3 separate regions of the Homo sapiens genome follow, and regions 1 and 3 are each linked to region 2. Evidence: promoter capture Hi-C in 16 types of primary human blood cells and fetal thymus (Javierre and others, 2016). All regions are on one chromosome and are shown on one strand. Each heading gives the region's core, a stretch centred on a gene start or on the middle of the fragment in contact. The rest is flanking DNA. Distances are from core to core; before and after follow the strand shown. Region 1 has its middle 330 kb from the start of CDH9. Region 2 holds the start of CDH10 (cadherin 10). Region 3 has its middle 350 kb from the start of CDH9.

Region 1 (2,700 bases), core at 169-2,668, 2.1 Mb before region 2:
CATCAGACTTATTCTCTACCATGGGAATAATATGGGGAAAACTGTCCCCATGATTCAATTATCTCCCAGTGTGTCCCTCTCACAAAATGTAGAAAATATGGGAGTTTAAATTCAATATGAGATTTGGGTGGGGACACAGCCAAACCACATAAGTTAGTATATAGAAACACTATTTATTTTGCATATTTTTATTCTGCAACTTTGCTGAATTTGCGTATCAGTTCTAATAGTTTTTTAATGTGATGTTTATAATGTTCTCTATATAAGATCATGTTGTCAGAACATGGACAATTTTGCTTCTTCCTTTCCTATTTGAATGCCTTTTATTTATTTCTCTTGCCTAATTTTTGTGCCTGTGATATTTAGTACTGTATTGAATAGAAGTGTTCAGAGAGGTTATCCTTGCCTTATTTCTCATCTTAGAGATAAAGCTTTCACCTTTTTACCAAAGAGTATGATATTAGCTGTGGGCTTGTTATGCATAGCCTTTGTTTTGTTGAGGTACATTCGTTCTGTGCCTAATGTTTGAGAGGTTTTACCATGAAAGGATGTTAGATTTTGTCAAATAATTTTCCTGAATTGATAATGATGACCATATGCTTTTTGTTTTTCATTCTGTTAATTTGATGTATGATGTTTATAGATTTGTATATGTAAAAATATCCTTGCACCCCATGGATATATCCCACTTTGTAGTGGTGAATGAACGTTTAAATATGCTGTTGAATTCAGTTTGCTACCATTTTGTTGAGGATTTTTGCATCTATGGTCATTAGGAAAATTGGTATCATTTTATTTTTTTATTTACAGTGTCCTTGTATGGCTTTTGTGTCAGGATAAAAAAGAAAAACTTTAAAATGATTGAAGTAATTTTATGACAACATTTTAAAAGGCTTTGAAAATAATTTTGTACTTGATTTTGAAAAAAAATGCCTGAGTTGTTGGAAATATTTCATTAATTAATTATATTCAATGCAATATTTATGATATTATTTAACTCATATTTTGATTATTTGTATGTATTTCACCTTCATGCTGAAAAAGAAACTTTGGCATCCTTTGCATTCTTTACCTTTTTTCCAAAGTCTCTAAAGACTGGTATTATTTCCCCACTTATTTGTGTCCATTATATGAACAGAACTATTTACTAAATTTGTTTTTCTGATACTGAATTGTAAAGAACAAAGAAAATACAGTGTAACTATTTTTAATATCACCATCCTACTGTATCAAAGATTTCAGAATAGTATAACCTGTTGTTTTTACTGTGGTTAGCCAGTCTATTACAACATTGCCAAATGGAATTTGGTGCTATTTATCTAAATGATACATATTCAACCTTTATTTCCACAGAAATCAAAAGCATACATTGCATATTAAATTTCTGAAATAATGAGAATTATTTTGTAATCTTTCGACATTGAAATATTTATTCTATAAAAGTTTAATAATACGTTATAAGTGTGCATTCTCTCTCCCTCTCTCTCTCCCTCCCTCTAGTCATACATCTTAACAGCAGTGATACATTCTAAGAAATGGATTGTTAGGTGATTTTGTCATTGTGCGAACATCACAGAATGACGATGGTATAGACTAGCTGGTATAGTCCACTACACACCTAAGGTATATGGTACGGACTATTGCTTCTAAGCTACAAACCTGTATAGCATGTTACTTTAATAAATTGTGAAACAATTGTAAGCATGTGTGAATCCAAGCATATCTAAATATTGAAAAGGTACAGTCAAATATGGTATGAAAGATAAAAAATAGTACATTTATATAGGAAACTTACCACTAATGGAGCTTGCAGTACAGGCAGTTGCTCTGGGTGTCAGTAAGAGGTTGGTGAATGTGAAGTCCTAGGAAATTATTGTAACTATTGTAGACTTTATAAACACAGTACACTTAGGCTACAGTAAATTTTAGAAAAAATATATTTTTCTTAATAATAAATTAACCTTTACTTACTGTGAAATTTTACTTTATAAACTTTTCGATTTTATTTTAACTTCTTTTTTTTTTGAGACAGAGTCTCACTCTATCCCCCAGGCTGGAGTGCAGTGGTGCATCTGGGGTCACCGTGACCTCTGCCTCCTGGGGTCAAGTGATTCTCCTGCTTCAGCCTCCTCGGTAGCTGGGATTACAGGAGCCTGTCACTATGCCCAGCTAATTGTTTGTATGCTTAGTAGAGACAAGGTTTCGCCATGTTGGCCAGGCTGGTCTTGAACTCCTGACCTCAGGTAATATGCCCGCCTCGGCCTCTCAAAGTGCTGAGATTACAGGCGTGTGCCACCATGCTCAGCCTATTTTAACCTTTTAATTCTTGTAATAACACAGTTTAAAACACAAACACGTTTTACAACCGTACAAAAACATTTTTATATCCTTATTCTATAAGCTTTTTGTCTATTTTTAATTTTTTAAAGAGATTTTTACTTTGTAAACTTTTTGGTTAAAAGCTAAGACACAAACACACACATTAGCTTAAGCCTATATGGAATTAGAACTATCAATATCGCTGCCTTCCCCCTCTCCCTCTTGTCCCACTGGAAGGTCTTCAGGAGCAATAATACGTATGGCACCGTCATCACCAATGATAACAACGCTTGGCCGGGCCCAGTGGTTCACGCCTGTGATCCCAGCACTTTGGGAGGCCAAGGTGGGTGGATCACGAGGTCAGGAGATCAAGACCACCCT
Region 2 (2,700 bases), core at 168-2,667:
TAACAAAAACTATGGGCAAATGATACGGTGATAATTCAGAATTCTAGCTCTATTATTATCAAACTTTAGAGGGGCCATAAAATTTTCCTGATCTTAATGCCATCGTCTGTAAAATTAAGAGTTTCAAAAGTCCATTTCTGCTCTAAATGTCATTTAGCTGTTCAGCTCAGTGGAAATGTTTGGTGTTTTCAAATATAAAACTAATTGGTAAAATTCATCATATAATAACACTGTGATACATTAAAACCTTTTTGGAATCTAATTTTGAATCTCCCTCTCACTTCTTTTTTGCCCCTCAGATTGAGTTTCTTCCTTTTTCATTGTGCTGATTATGTAAGGGGCCTGTTGACTGTTAGAATGATCAAACAGGTACAGAGGAGGCAGTATGGCAACCGGAAACAATACTAAACTGGAAGTAGGAGTGTGGTATTACAGCTTTGACCCCGCCTCCAGTTAGTCCTGTGACAATTTAACATTCTGAGCATTTTTATCTGCTAAAGAAATAATAATAATAACAGCCCAAAATGATCTTCGTAATTTCTCCTCTAGCTTTAAAACTATAATTGACATATATGTATTTATATGCATATATGTATGTATATGTGTATATAATTTATTTATGGATGGCACTTTAAAAGGAATCTACCTGTAGCCGGAAAAATGCAAAGATGTTAATTACTTTGTGGAGCTATACTGACATCCTTTGGTAAGGTTTGGTTGATTGCAATTTGATGTGGAGATTGATAAATAGCGAGACAGTTAGATGTTTAAGTAGATAGAACAATCCAAATGTATTTACATCTGTCCACACACTCATTTGGGTATGAAACCCGTATTTATGAGAAAAAACAACGTTAAAAAGAAAAAAAAGGAGACTGTGTCAAGTTCAAAGTCTAAATATTTTAATAACACTAATTACATATTTACATTTTTAATAAAATATTTTATCTATAAAGTATTAAAATGCAAAGATTAGGCAGAGAAGACTGGCTCGCGGACATTCCAAAATGATGAGCGAGGTATGCACTCCTGTGACAATAAGCAACAAGAGAAGGGATTTGGAAAATCAAGCCGAGAAAGTTCCCTGAAAGCAAAAAATAAACATTTAAAATCACAACGAAAAATCACTCTGGTAACATATCAAATCTGGTTGCAATTTGACTTGGCGCTCTGATAATACTTGGATTTCGGTAGTCTGGTGTAAGGACGGTGCAGGAATATATATTCCAGAAGAACTATCTTTTTTTAAAAAAAATTGCAAGAAGCAGTCCTGTTCCTGAGATTGTATTACGGACACAGGCGGATTAGATTGGGCTGATTACCTTAGCCTTGAAACAGAGAGTCTTTCTGCCCTGCGGGGGAGGGGACGCCTTTCAAGCAAAGCCCTCCTCTCGGATGCGCCCTCCCCTCGCATTCACTTGCAAATCGCTGTGTGCTCGCAGAAGCCAGCACTTCCACAGTCTCTAACCTTCCCATGGCGAGTGCTGCAGCTCTATCAGCAGAACCTTTCTCTCCGTGTGAGGAAGAGCTTTTTTCCCCCCTTTCCTTTTTTTTTTTTTTCCTTTCCCCTTAATCAGAAGCACTGAATGAAAGCCAATCAGAGAGAGCTCGCCCCCGTTTTCTTCGGTTCCCTGCTGTCCAGAGTTAAAAGTGATGCTGAGAAAGAGCTTGAGTTAGATTGAAGTAGAATCAGTGATAGAAAATAACAGCCGAAAACAAACAAAAAGGGGACATAGTGACAATTTCTCCTGGGTTATTTTGGCTGGAACCAACTTCCATTATCCAGAAGCTGATAAAAAAGGTAGGAAGACTTCACCTCTTTCTTTTAACTCCGTTAAGGTATTATATATTCCTCCACTTGAGGGGTGGGGGGGGAGAGGGAGGAGATAAATGTTTGTTTTTAAGTTGTGTTTAGCAATTATTTCAAAATAATTATCTTTAATACTTAAATAAGCATACAACTCTATATATTTAATTCTAGAAACAACTGCTTCGAATATCTATATAGGCAATGTAAAGCTGGATAAATTATATATTATGCTCAACAGTGGGTCATGATATTAGAGTTTGTGAATTCATTCACTTGGAACAAATGCTAAAAAATATGTTATGAAGTGAATTTGTCATGCCCAGACTTGTTCATTTTTATTTTAAAAATCAGTTCAAGAGATAACATTGTTACTGTGAACTCTAACATCATCTAACATTACTTTGCATTCCATATGAATGGATTCACTCTGCACTTATTCGTAGTCATAGTTCATTGTACGTTCAATATAAACAGAAATGACAGGCAGAAGACAGATTCCTTGAAACTGTCAATGGTCACTAAGCATCTACATAAATACAATAGATTGACATTCATCAGAAATAGAATAGGCAGAATTCTTATTTTCAATTTTATATCTGAGTCAGAAGTATTGGGGGGAGAGAGGTAAAGAGAGGGAGAGTAAATGCATGTAGTCAGCAGTTGCAGCATTTATTGTTTCTGCTGCAATAAAATCCATATTTTATGTGTTGTTAAATTAATGCAGCATATTGCAAGTATAAATGCATGTCCCCAACAAGTAACTATTGATAGCACTGTAACTATGGGCAAAAGCAGTAGTCTGAAATTGTTTTTATGCCACTAAAATAAAAACCTACTGTCTCCTTATTATGAAAAAAGGGGAGTCTACAGGTACAAAGACAAATATTGTT
Region 3 (2,700 bases), core at 154-2,653, 2.0 Mb before region 2:
ATTCGATTTCACAAATTCAGTATCAATGGCTTTTACTACTGGCAATTGGTCATGGATATCATGATATGAAATATTTCAGTTGTGCAAAATCAAACCAGTTTTCTGTTGAAGAAAGATAACTAAACCTTGAGCATTGCCTTTTCATCTTAATACGGCATTGATGTCCTTGACTCGTCAACTATATTCATTTATTACAAAACTGTAGGATATTACATGAGAGTCATTAAATTCACTAAGAAACAACAAAGTTTTGTTTTTAAGCATCTCAATTATTAAAAATTTCCAGTAAACATGAGTAGAAAGCAATCAGAGCTCCATGTATGAACTGCCAAAATTTTAGGTATATTTCTATTCAAATATTGTAACATCTTGTTTCTTCTATTCTGGTATCAAGTGTTTCTAGATACCCTCAAATCCATAAAAAGTCATTTTGGGACTGGCACGATGGCTCACGCCTGTAATCCCAGCACTTTGCGGGGCTGAGGAGTGCGGATCACCTGAGGTCAGGAGTTCAAGACCAGCTTAGCCAACATGGTGAAACCCTGCGCCTACTAAAAACACAAAATTAGCCAGTTGTGATGGCAGATGCCTGTAATCCCAGCTACTTGGGAGGCTGAGACAGGAGAATCATTTGAACCTGGGAGGTGGAGGCTGCAGTGAACCGAGATTACACCACTGCACTCTAGCCTGGGCAACAGAGCAATACTCCATTTAAAATAAAAAATAAAAATAAAAAATACAGTAAAAGCCATTTTGCTTTACTAAACTTATCTCTGTTTACCCATATTCTTGTCTCAGTTTCCTGATGACTCAACCAAGCTTTCTTCTGGCAACTGGAAAATAAAGGAAATTGTGTTAGGAGCTTGAAAACATTCCTACTTTTGACAGATTTTCTTTAGGATTTAAGAATCAAAATTTTTGCCTTTAGCTTTTGACTGGTTTCTTATTTAAAAATGGGCTGATCATAGAACCACCAGAAATATAGATCACAGATTAGTTTTCCCTCCAAGGCCGAAATTCAATCCATTTTTTTTCTCCTCATCAGATTTCTCCTCTACATAACTGCTCCCAACATGTATCAACTCATCTTCCTCTCAGATGTTATCTCAGTAGCCTTGTCATCAGGTAATCTTATGTAACATATGATATAATTGCTTAAAATTAACAAAACATCTTTAGCAAAGCTTTCATAATCTGCTCCAAGCTGAATTTTCCAGCTTAAACTTTATGTTGTTCTCTTTGCCCTTTTCTTCTACCATTTTCTTTTTAGGCAATAAGACTCATCAAACCTTCAAAACATAATTCAAATTTTGCCCCTACTGAAGGGCATTCCATGTTGATTGTTGATTTCAACACTGGGACCATCAGTAGTCAGCCATTCTCAGTGAACTCATCTCTGTGTAATAATCAAGATTTTCTGTTAAGGCCCTTTTATTATTCTGTGCTTGTTTTACTTCTAAATACACATAAACGTACACAAAATAAAACAGTGGGAATTTTTAAGAAAAATTATCACTCCTAACATGGTAAGTAGATAAAGTTTACTGAGTATTTTTTTTTTCTTGACTTGGACAATATATTTTTGACCACTTTACAAAGAAATATACTGATATAAAGCTTATTTTCTGCTGTTTGTAAGTAATCCCAGTTCAGTTGGTAAATCCACATTAAAAATACTTCTCTGGAAGTAAAGGCCTCATAGTCAGTAATGTGCTGGATGGATTCTTATTTGGATCGTTTTTCTATAATGGTCTGAAGTATTTCTACTTTAAATCAAAGTTTTATAACTTTTTTGTCTCTGGTTTGAGTTGTAAATCTCATTTCTTCTGCTACGTTTTACACTTGCCAATGTTGCTGAGGCCAGTATCTAAAGGAAGCCTTTCATCATCATTTAAATGTGTTCACATGTGAGATCTAGAGATCCCCTGTCTCAGTTGAGTCTCACTAACTCATCAGAACTAAAGCCATGAAATGCAAGTTAAATCAACAAAAAGATTTTCAAAAGCAAAATCAATATATCATTTATGTGTAATTTTTAGTTGAAAATTCAGAAAACAAGTATTTATTTTTCATAGCTTGGTTAGCATTTAAAAATGTACAACTTTTAAAAAAATGTAACAGCTTAAAACAATGCAAATTTATATCAACTGTTCTCATGGCCGAGTGGTTGGGCATAACCTAACTGGGTCCTCAGCTCAAGGTCACACTAGGCGTTTGTTCAGTGTGCTCTATTCTTATCTGCAAGCTTGTTCAGAGAATATTCTACCTCCAGCATCATGTAGGTGGTTAGTAGCTTTCATTTGCTTGCAGCCCTGTGCTGAGGGCCCTGGCTTCTTACTGGTTATTGGCTGGAGACTGCTCAGCTTCTAGAGGCTGACACCCTTTGTCTGAAGTTCTCTGAAGCTTTGCAACATGGCAGCTCACGTTTTCAAAATGAGTAGGAGAATCTTCCTATCTTTAGGAAGACCCTATCCCTCCTTAAAAGGTTTTATACTCCAGAATAATATCCTGCTTGTTATCCTGTGCATCAGTTGACATAAGTGAACTGATTTGGGATTTTCATTATATCTGCAAAATCCTTTCAACTTTATCACATAAAGTAACCTTATCACTGGAAGGTCATTTCATTGTATTTGTAGGTCTTACCACACTCCAGGGGCAAGTATATATCCTGGGGATCATCTTAGAATTCTGCCTAGA

Evidence for each region. Contacts are between HindIII fragments. The CHiCAGO score rates a contact against its expected background, and 5 or more counts as called.
Region 1: a contact is called between a fragment that was not itself captured here and the fragment with the promoter of CDH10 in region 2, in 1 of 17 cell types (M2 macrophages). The highest score is 6.1, in M2 macrophages.
Region 3: a contact is called between a fragment that was not itself captured here and the fragment with the promoter of CDH10 in region 2, in 1 of 17 cell types (M2 macrophages). The highest score is 7.2, in M2 macrophages.

What each region holds. Positions count from the first base shown.
Region 1 is chr5:26,704,588-26,707,287 of GRCh38, reverse strand. No RefSeq gene overlaps it. Among named protein-coding and RNA genes, the nearest start is that of CDH9, 330 kb to the left of the region's middle. The HindIII fragment of the contact is 1,970 bases long and covers 434-2,403 here.
Region 2 is chr5:24,643,695-24,646,394 of GRCh38, reverse strand. It overlaps CDH10 (cadherin 10), which reads left to right and starts at 1,417. Exons shown (of 12, transcript NM_006727.5): 1 at 1,417-1,801. LOC124901174 (a long non-coding RNA gene) reads right to left here and starts at 1,686. Exons shown (of 2, transcript XR_007059125.1): 1 at 1,323-1,686; 2 at 881-1,084. RefSeq lists an enhancer at 1,125-1,720. The HindIII fragment of the contact is 4,637 bases long and covers 1-2,700 here.
Region 3 is chr5:26,684,779-26,687,478 of GRCh38, reverse strand. No RefSeq gene overlaps it. Among named protein-coding and RNA genes, the nearest start is that of CDH9, 350 kb to the left of the region's middle. The HindIII fragment of the contact is 433 bases long and covers 1,187-1,619 here.